Linked DNA regions of Homo sapiens: all the other regions are linked to region 1. The links are contacts of gene promoters, found by promoter capture Hi-C in blood cells and fetal thymus (Javierre and others, 2016). All regions are on one chromosome and are shown on one strand. Each heading gives the region's core, a stretch centred on a gene start or on the middle of the fragment in contact. The rest is flanking DNA. Distances are from core to core; before and after follow the strand shown.

The links. Contacts are between HindIII fragments. The CHiCAGO score rates a contact against its expected background, and 5 or more counts as called.
Region 2: a contact is called between a fragment that was not itself captured here and the fragment with the promoter of TRNAU1AP in region 1, in 1 of 17 cell types (total CD4 T cells). The highest score is 5.4, in total CD4 T cells.
Region 3: a fragment that was not itself captured here is called in contact with the fragment with the promoter of TRNAU1AP in region 1 in 2 of 17 cell types (fetal thymus and endothelial precursors); the score reaches 5.4 in fetal thymus.

What each region holds. Positions count from the first base shown.
Region 1 is chr1:28,551,213-28,554,689 of GRCh38, forward strand. TRNAU1AP (tRNA selenocysteine 1 associated protein 1) reads left to right here and starts at 1,873. Exons shown (of 9, transcript NM_017846.5): 1 at 1,873-1,925; 2 at 2,428-2,525. The coding sequence starts at 1,899. RefSeq lists enhancers at 1,585-1,879, 1,603-1,662 and silencers at 1,813-1,952, 2,885-3,179. The HindIII fragment of the contact is 4,615 bases long and covers 1-2,258 here.
Region 2 is chr1:29,048,954-29,052,430 of GRCh38, forward strand. All of the region lies in intron 11 of EPB41 (erythrocyte membrane protein band 4.1), which reads left to right. Among named protein-coding and RNA genes, the nearest start is that of TMEM200B, 73 kb to the right of the region's middle. The HindIII fragment of the contact is 7,587 bases long and covers 1-3,477 here.
Region 3 is chr1:28,266,049-28,269,525 of GRCh38, forward strand. SESN2 (sestrin 2) reads left to right here. Exons shown (of 10, transcript NM_031459.5): 2 at 3,135-3,200. Among named protein-coding and RNA genes, the nearest start is that of SESN2, 8.3 kb to the left of the region's middle. The HindIII fragment of the contact is 2,975 bases long and covers 229-3,203 here.

The DNA of each region.
Region 1 (3,477 bases), core at 623-3,122:
GCGATGGGTGGCTCACGCCTGTAATCCCAGCACTTTGGGAGGCCGAGGTGGGTGGATCACCTCAGGTCAGGAGTTCGAGACCAGCCTGACCAACATGGTGAAACCCCGTCTCTACTGAAAATACAAAAATTAGCTGTGCCTGGTGGTGGGCGCCTGTAATCCCAGCTACTCAGGAGGTGAAGCAGGAGAATAGCTAGAACCCAGGAGGCTAGATTCTAGCTATTCTGAGCCGAGATTGTGCCATTGCACTCCAGCCTGGGCGACAAAGGAAGACTCCGTCTCAAAAAAAAAAAAAAAGATAATCATTACAACAGGATATGCTGACCTTCATACCCCACCCTCATGAGCTTTGTCCTGCCCAGCCTGTAAACCCTACACTTGATATCACTTTCCGTGCTTTGCCCAATAAAACATCTCAACCAGCTCTTTTCGGAGAGTCAGGGAATTCTCGCTCTCTTGTGCTGCCTCCCTTATACCCAGGCATAAGCTCCAATGAAGACTTGTCTGGGAAAACTTTTTTGGCCTCATGTTAATTTCTGTTGGATTGAGAGCCTAAGAACCCCTGGTAACAATAGGGAGGTAGTGGAACCGGGTTGTCCGGAGGGATATTTTCACTTTTTTGGATGCACTTGTATCTGCAGTTTTTTACAACGAGCATATATTAATGTTGTAATTATGTGTGTGTTTGTGTGTGTGTGTACGTGTGTATGTTTTTTGTTTTTTGTTTTTTTTTTAATTTGAGACAGAGTCTCACTCTGTCGCCCAGGCTGGAGTGCAGTGGCGCGATCTCGGCTCACTGCAGCCTCTGCCTCCCGGGTTCAAGTGATTATCCTGTCTCAGCCACCTGAGTAGCTGGGACTACAAGTGCACACCATCATACCCGGCTAATTTCTGTATTTTTAGTAGAGACGGGGTTTCACCATGTTGGCCAGGATGGTCTCGATCTCCTGACCTCGTGATCTGCCCACCTCGGCCTCCCAAAGTGTTGGGATTACAGGCGTGAGCCACCGCGCCCGGCCTTGTTTGTTTTCTAAATATGTAAAGTCAGAAATTAACCCAAGTAACGAGCATACATATATATGTGTGTGTGTGTGTGTATATATGTATATATATGTGTATGTGTGTATATATGTGTATATGTGTATTATGTGTGTATATGTGTATATATGTGTATATATATGTGTATGTGTGTGTGTGTGTGTATGTATATATATGGAGTCTTGCTCTGTCACCAGGCTGCGGTGCAATGGCGCTATCTCGGCTCACTGCAACTTCTGCCCCCTGGGTTTAAGCGATTCTCCTGCCTCAGTCTCCCGAGTAGCTGCGACTACCAGCGCTCGCCACCACGCCCGCTAATTTTCGTACTTTTAGTAGAGAGGGGGTTTCCCCCTGTTGGCGAGGATGGTCTCGATTTCTTCACCTCGTGATCCGCCCGCCTCGGCCTCCTCAAGTGCTGGGATTACAGGCGTGAGCCACCGTGCCCAGCCCTAACGAGCATATATTAATGTTGTAATTATATGTGTCTGTGTGTGTGTGGTTTTGTTTTCTATATAAAGTCAGACGAGTGTGTGTGTGTAGTTTTGTTTGTTTTCTAAATATATAAAGTCAGAAATAAACCCAAGTAACCCAGCCGCCTGGGCCAGGTGGTATCTGGCCCGCCCCATTCCAGCCTGAACTCCGCCCACCGCGATCCGGAAGCCTAGCGCCCAGTGGGTTGCAGGAAAAACCCGGAGCTGAACACACTGCCCGACCCGGGCCGCTGCGCTCGGGAGCCTGCGCAGAAGCCGTCGGAGGCGCATGCTCTGTAGCGGTCTCCGCAGCCAGGATTGGCGCCCGCGCGGGCCTTCGAGCCCCGCCCGCAGAGCCCCGCCCGCAAAGCCCCACCCCGGTGCGCGGGTATGGCGGCCAGCCTGTGGATGGGCGACGTGAGTGAGGGCAGCCGTCCGGGGTCTGAAGACAAGGAAGCATCTCGGTTTCGCGAGAGAGGAAGGATCTGAGTGGGAGGGGACTTGGGATCCCAGAAAGGGGAGACGTGTGACGGGGGTTCTTTTTGGTGACACAGAAGCGGGTTCCAGCATCTAAGTGAAGAGGCTGAGTCCGTGAGGCTAGGGGTCCTGGGGCCCCACCTGGGTTCGTGGGAGGGAAAGGTGGTGCTTTGGGGACATAGAATGGGAGCAATCCAAGGACTGAGGCGCGCTGTTCTGGGACCGGAGGAGTGGGGTTTCTAGGTCCAAGGGGAGGCTCCCTAAAGCGGGGCAAGCTTGAACCAAAAGAGCTGGGGTTTCAGGCCGCTCAGTGGAGGCGAACCTCGCCCCTCGCTCCCCCAGCGGCGCGTAGCCAGCCCTGGGCTGAACGGGAGGGGCTCTGGAACCCGGAGTGGGAAGCCCGGCCGCCGGCCTGAGCCGCTGTGCTCTTGTTTTTACGCAGCTGGAACCCTACATGGATGAGAACTTCATCTCCAGAGCCTTTGCCACCATGGGGGAGACCGTAATGAGCGTCAAAATTATCCGAAACCGCCTCACTGGGTAAGTCTCATCTCAGGTCTCTCTTAATACATCTCGTTGCAGCTGTCATGTACGAGAATGTAAACATCGTAGTCATGGCTTCTCACTACCCCTAGTAATAGTCACTGTAAAATTATAACAGCTAACATTTTGAGGTCCCAATGAGTGGAAGGATGGCATGTAGCTTAAGGGTAGGACTTGCCAGGCGTTGTGACTCACACCTGTAATCCCAGCACTTTGGGAGGCTGAGGTGGGTGGATCACCTGAGGTCAGGAGTTTGAGACCAGCCTGGCCAACATGGTGAAACCCCGTCTCTACTAAAAATACAAAAATTAGCCGGGTGTGGTGGCAGGCACCTGTAACCCCAGCTACTCCGGAGGCTGAGGCATGAGAATCACTTGAACCCGGGAGGCGAAGGTTGCAGTGAGCTGAGATCGTGCCACTGTACTTCAGCTTGGACAACAAGAGCAAAACAATGTCTCAAAAAAAAAAAAAACAAAAAAACAAAAAACGCAGGACTCAAGCGAGACTGGGTTTGAAAGCTATTTCTACTCTATGACCTTGGGTAAGTTACTTAACTGCTCTGTCTCATTCACTTTGAGTATAAAAATGGAAATAACAGCACCTACCTCCTAGAGTTATGGTGAGGATTAAATGAGTTAATTCACATTCATCATTAGGACAGTGTATGGCATATAGCATATGCTCAGTAAGTATAGTCAGATTACGATCTGCTGAGTAATAAGCAGTTTACATCCATTATCTCCTTAAAACCTCAGAAACTTCTGAGGTAGGTAAATACTATTATGAAGAGGCTTAATAACTTGAAGAGTTACAATAAATAGCCGGGCGCAGTGGCTCTCGCCTGTAATCCTAGCACTTTGGGAGGCCGAGGCAGGCCGGATCACGAGGTCAGGAGATTGAGACCATCCTGGCTAACACGGTGAAACCCCATCTCTACTAAAAATACAAA
Region 2 (3,477 bases), core at 253-2,752, 500 kb after region 1:
TAAAAGATACTTTTTCCCGTTGAGTCACCCCTCCCTTTTCAAAAGATTAATATAACTCTGTAAGCTAGAGATGGTGTATCAGGGAAACTTTTACAAGAATTGCTTTATAAGGGGTCTTATTTTAATGATAAAAATGAGCATTCCCTTCCTCTTCTGTTATGTGTGGTGCTTAGAGCATCTGCTTCACCAGCTGGAGTACCAAAACTGGTTCAGATCCCAGTTTTATGATAGAGTAGTAAGTTGCAAGCGTAGCTAATAATGATGACAAAGATTATATTTTTCTTGCACTTTTTGCTTTTCAAACCATTTCCATGTATTCCTATTTAATACTAGCAACTTAGTCAATAAGAGAAAACATTTAGGAATTACAGTTTTACTCATGAGGAAACTGGAGCACAAAAGAAAGGGCCACACAACCAGGTAGTTCATCCATTCAGTGAGCAGTGGTTACAGTGATTCTTGCCAGGGGTGTACATCCTTATCACCTTTGGAGCTTTAAAACAAAACACATGCCCAAGCCTCACTCTTGGATAGCTCATCTCACTAGAGTGGGCCTGAGCATCATCTGATTTTTTTGTTTTTTGTCTTGAAAAACAAACATTGTATCAGAGGACACAAATGATTTATGTGGTCCTCTGATAAAAGAACCACCCTACCGCATACTAGCAGAAATTGTGCTAGTAAATAACAGCTAGAAGTAGAAGTTGTTTGCCTTTACTCAGTCTGATGGTTTGAATTTTATTCTTTACTGCTGTAGTATATAACTATCTAAGTTTCTGTTGTCAGCCAAGAGCAATATAGTATTGAAGTTAGTGGGTCACCATCAGCATTTTTCTTTATGTAGACCCTCAGATATGGGAGATACTGGATTTTTAAAGTTATGTATTGTCTATATATGCACCAAAATCTTGTAAATATTAACAGCTGAATTAATAAAACTGAAGACCCACACATCTTAAAAAGCAATCCTTACCCCCAACACTGTGAATATACTAAAAAGCATTGAATTATATATTTTAAATGAGTGAACTGTGTGGTATGTGAATTGTATCTCAAAAAAAGCTGTTAAAAAAAGCCATGATCACTACCATGATATTATAGAGTTAATATCTTCCATATTTTACAGATGATTAAACTAAAGTTTGTAAGATTAAGCTCCACGCCTTAGGCACACTACTATATGTGACTGAGTGTGGGCCTAAGACTCGTGATTTGGCTTTTGCCTCTGTTCCACGCAGCCTTTCACAGCCAGAGCTTTTTATTGTAATGTTATTATTTTTCCAATCTGTGAACTCTGTTTCTGTCAGTTTCCACACTAATACCTTCTTTTCCACATACAGTACAGATTGCCAAGGCTAGGAATGCTGAAGACATAAATCATTTGGCTCTGCAGTATTAGTACTGGATTGAAACCAAAGACAAGTGGCAAAATAACACATGGTGAAAGCATGGGCTAAGTTTCTATGATGCCAGGCATAGTTGAATTAATTCTTTGAGAGGAGGTGTGAATACACATGTATAATGATACTTAAACACAACTGTGAGCAAAATATTTTGTCACATTCCCCTGTGTTGTCAGGTTTGGTCTGCCATCTGCCACTCTTGCAGTGACTGCTTAAAGCACCCATTAGTAGTAGCTCTGTGCTAATCCAGAGTTATTACTACTAACCCAGTAGTAGCAATCTGTGCAAGAGGCCGCAGATTTTTCATGGAAAGATAAAGGAGATCCTTTTTTTTTTTGAGACAGAGTCTTGCTCTGTTGCCCAGGCTAGAGTGCAGTGGTACGATCTCGGCTCACTGCAAGCTCCACCTCCTGGGTTCAGGCCATTCACCTGCCTCAGCCTCCCAAGTAACTGGGACTACAGACGCCCGCCACCACGCCCAGCTAATTTTTTGTATTTTTTAGTAGAGATGGGTTTCACTGTGTTAGCCAGGATGGCCTCAATCTCCTGACCTCGTGATCCACCCACCTTGGCCTCCCAAAGTGCTGGGATTATAGGCGTGAGCCACCACGCCTGGCTGATAAAGGGGATTCTTGAATTTCTGCTGTTTTTCCTATATATCCGCTAAGGAATTAGTTCTTTCATTGGAAATTATGACAGAGTAATGAGCATTTCTTTCTTTTTCTTTTTCTGTTTTTTTTTTTTTTTTTTTTTTTTTTTTTGGAGACAGTCTGGCTCTGTTGCCCAGGCTGGAGTGCAGTGGCACGATCTCAGCTCACTGCAACCTCTGCCTCTCGGGTTCAAGTGATTCTCCTGCCTCAGCCTCCCGAGTAGCTATGACTACAGGCGCCCACCACCACACTTGGCTAATTTTTGTATTTTTAGTAGAGACGACGTTTCACCTTGTTGACCAGGCTGGTCTCGAACTCCCGACCTCAGGTGATCTGCCCACCTCGGCCTCCCAAAGTGCTGGGATTACAGGTGTGAGCCACCGTGCCTGGCCAAGCATTTCTTTCTTAATATTGTTGTATGAAGTAGTTGGGAATTTAAAGTTTTTATCTGTTCAGATTCATGGAATTCCTTTATCTGATCCTTACAGTTTACAAATCTAAAAATTTCAGGATGAATCATGTTCAGTTATAGTCAGTTTAAGAATGCAGGAAAGTCTATAATAAAAATTATTGATTTCCATGCAAATTGATTAAAATATAAGAGTCTTGGCTGGGAGCGGTGGCTCACGCCTGTAATCCCAGGACTTTGGGAGGCCAAGGCAGGCAGATCACTTGAGGTCAGGAGTTCAAGACCAGCCTGGCCAACATGGTGAAACCCCATCTCTACTAAAGATACAAAAAATTAGCCAGGCATGGTGGCATGTGCCTGTAGTCCCAGCTACTGGGGAGGCTGAGGCAGGAGAATCACTTGAACCTGAGAGGCGGAGATTCTAGTGAGCCGAGATCATGCCATTGCACTCTAGCCTAGGCGACAGGGCAAGACTCCATCTTAAAAAAAAAAAAAAAGTCTCAGTACAAAAGAGGATAACAATATGTTATCAGAAATACTAAATCATGCACAAAAACACTTTCATTCCTAGATACTGTCAGATAAGTGAAGTTTTATTACAAAGTGTAAATGTTTTATATCCCTGAAAGAATGAACATAAAAACCATAAAAAGAGTATGAGTGATTGTTTTGAAGTAAGCTGTCTAAAACTTAGATACCAAATATTCCAAAACAACAATTGGCTCTTTGAAAAGATCAAGATTTTATCATAAGTCTGTATAGTTTATTCTCTCTAAAACAGTCTATACAACTTTTCCCCTAAATTAAGGTTTCTCAACCTCAGTAACTTCAGCCTCTATGCACTGGATGCCAGTACCTCCCGTCTCTCCCCTCCTCTGTTACAACAACCAAAAATGTCTCCGGACATTGCCAGATATTCTCTGGGGACAATTTACTCCAGTTGAGAACCACTGCCCTAAACATATTAGAGAATAAGAGCTGTAATACAAATTGGTAAGGCTGAGAGATAGTAGGA
Region 3 (3,477 bases), core at 466-2,965, 290 kb before region 1:
TGCTGTATTCTTGCTGCTTGCAATATAGCCATCAAAAATATTTGTTGAGTGAACAAATTAATTCTGTTTCCACCTAGAAAGCACTTAGCATAGTGCCTTATACTTGAGAAAGTGATCAATAAATGGTGTAAACAATGGTCCTCACCCTGGCTGTTATGCTGGGGCCCCACCCCAGATAACTAAATTAGAATTGCGGGAGGTGGGACCTTGGCATTGTTATTTTTGTAAAGCTTCTCAAAGGATTCTAATGTACCGCTTGGGTTGAGAAGCCCTTGTTTGATACAGCAAGGAGGTTAATGATACCTGACTTTTTATTAAGTGCTTATTGTTATGGAGGTATTGAGGTAAGCTACACAGTGTTATCTCATGAAATCCTCATCACTGGCCAGTGGAAGTAGTTACTGCTATCCCCATTATTTGGTAAAGAAACTGAGGCTCATAAAGCTAAGGGATAGCAGGTGGTGGAGCTGTCATTTGAGCTCATGCAATTTGTGTCAAGAGCCCCATCTTTTTTTTTTTTTTTTTTTTTGAGACAGGGTCTTGCCCTGTTGCTCAGGCTGGAATGCCGTGGTGCGATCATAGCTTGCTGTAACCTCAAACTCCTGGGCTCAGGCAGTCCTCCTGCCTCAGCCTCCTGAGTAGCTGGGACTACAGGTTGTGTGCTACCATGCCCAGCTAATTTACTGTTTGTGGAGACAGGGGTCTCACTGTGTTGCCCAGGCTGGTCTCGAATTCCTGGCCTCAAGCGATCCTCTTGCCTCAGTGTCCCAACGTGCTGGGATGAGCTGCTGCGCCAGCCAAGGGCCCCTATCTTTTAACTGCATTGTATATTGTTGTTGTTGTTGTTATTGCTGAAAGTGTTGATGGATCCAGACCGATGACTTAGAGCTCCTTCTTTTGACAATTCCTGGGTCAGATTTTGGAGTGAGTTGGGATTCCCAAGGCTATTCCTATCCTTCCCTAGCACCCCTGATGGGCCGTCTCTGCCTCCCCCAGTTTTGCTCCACCCTACCCTGCTGTGGCTTGCTATTCTGTCCTCAGGTCCCCTGAGGTGGAGGCCCAGTTTGTGGAGTCAGCAATCCTTATCTCCTATACAGAGCTGTTGGGCTTTTTCTTTGGTGAGGGGGAGGGAAGCTCCAAAGGGGAGTGCTCAGGGATTGTGTTGGTTACTACGCTGAACTTGGACCAGCCTGGCCCGGAAGTTCCCAGAAGTGTGGGCTGAAGGGGGCCTGCACGGTCAGCTCAACTCCCTTTTTGAAGGTAGCTGGGCTACTTTACCTACCAGTTTAGTAGGTAAAGAGAGTTTAGGCCTTTAACTTTCCCAGAGCCACATAGCAAGTTAGTTGCAGAATTGGTACCTATTCCAGAGACTTTGTAGTCTTCTGGAGTCCCAGAGCTCTGCCTCCTCAGTGGGCTTTTGGCCATCTGAGAAGGAAGGTTCAATTATAGTTTTTGGTTCCCGGATACCTGAGGGCTGGTACTAAGTCTGGATCTTAATGGGAAGGGGAGAACTGGGCGCCTCCTATCCCTGTCCAGTGAGAGCATGGCTCTGATTTGGGTAAACTGTAAACAAGACCAGTGCTGAGAGCCACCTCCACTCTCAGATTAACAAAATAAATTAATAAGTAGAGCATCCTTCCTGAACCCCATCTCTAGGACTAGGAGAAGCAGATGTAGTGAGTACCTGATATTAGTGGTTTCTAAAGAGGCTGCAGCATATAACAGGTCAAAACAGTTGCTCCCATCAGCCTTGTACACCCTGCTCAGATTCCCTCCGTGCCTTTCTGCTTTCTCTGTCTTCATTCACAGACTAGTATGAATGACCTGGCGCTGCTCTCCACTAAATGTGATCTGGTGTCAGGGAAACAAAACAGACAATTTGATGACAGTGTTTTTAGAAGCAAAAGCCCTGGGAATTTTGGGGTCATAGGTGAGGGCCAGAAAAAGGTTCCTAGACTATTGTGGTTTAGCTTTGCAAAAGGAGTGACCACTGGGACTGGGCCAGTTGTATCTGGAAGCCCATGGGAGGGGGAGGTAGGGTTTTAAGCCAGTTGATCGGATTTATATTCAGAAAGTTAATGTGGCTACTGGGTAGAGGATGGATAGGAGAGGCCAGGGCTAAGGAGGCCGGGGGACAACTGGCGAGGTTGTGAGTAGTGGTCCAGACAAGAGGGGGTGGTAGTTAATGAGGTGGTGGTGGTGGGAGGACAGATAAGCAGCCAGGCATGGTGACTCCCATCTGTAATCCCAGTGCTTTGGGAGGCCAAGGCAGGAGGATCCATTGAGCCCAGCAGTTTGAGGCTATAGTGAGCTATGACTGCACCACTAAAGAAGAGGCCAGGCGTGGTGGCTCATTCCAGTAATCCCAGCACTTTGGGAGGCTGAGGTGGGCGGATCACCTGAGGTTGGGGATTCGAGACCAGCCTGGCCAACATGGAGAAACCCAGTTTCTACTAAAAATATAAAATTAGGTGAGCGTGGTTGTGCATGCCTGTAATCCCAGCTACTCGGGAGGCTGAGGCAGGAGAATCGCTTGAACCCAGGAGGCAGAGGTTGCAATGAGCTGAGATCGCACCATTGCACTCCAGCCTGGGCAACAAGAGCGATACTCCGTCTCAAAAAAAAAAAGAAGCAAAAGAAGGAAGGAGAAGGAAGGAAGGAAGGAAGAAGGAGGAGGAGGAGGAAGAAAGGAAGGAAGGAAGGAACGAACGAACATGTGAGAGAAATTGAAGCTGCTTCTGAAGCATCTGGGGTACTTGGTTACCTGGCTTCAGGGTGCAAACTGTGGTGTGTTCTTGTATAAGTTCTCTGGGACCACTAAGAAGGTGGCCTCCTGGAGATGTGCAGCATGATGGCTATATAGTTCCTTTTCCAGGACCCTCCCATCCCGCAATGCTGGGATTCTTGGGTCCCAACCCAGTTCCTGAAGAACTCAGCCTGGAGTGAGCCCTCTTTCTTGATTACCCTTCCAAACATGTGTATATCTCCCATCTGGCTCCACCATCCAAAGTATGCTAGAAAGGTGGGTTTAACACTTCAGTGTAGCCCCTTGGATAGGAGGAAGAGGCTGGATAGGTAATAATCCTCTTTATTCTCCCTTCTACTACGGACTAACCTCATATGTTTCCTCCCAGGAGCAGAGGGAGAGCCGGGCTCGGCGAGGCCCTCGAGGGCCCAGCGCCTTCATCCCCGTGGAGGAGGTAAGCTTGGAAGGGGTTAGGGATCTTTGGTCCCTGGGAAGAAAGGACATGGCATATTGGTAGGCAGGCATCTTTTCCTGTTCTTTAAATTGCAGCTTTTAAGCTATTCCTTTCTGATTTCTGATTCATTTAATTCACAAAACGGCTTTGTGAAGCAGGCACTGTCAACTCCATTTTACTGGGAAGAAACAGGCTCAAAGAAATCAAGTGCTAATAGCCAGGTAGTGGCCAAACTTTTTTTTTTTTTCATGCTCAAACTTTTGATTCCTAGATCAGT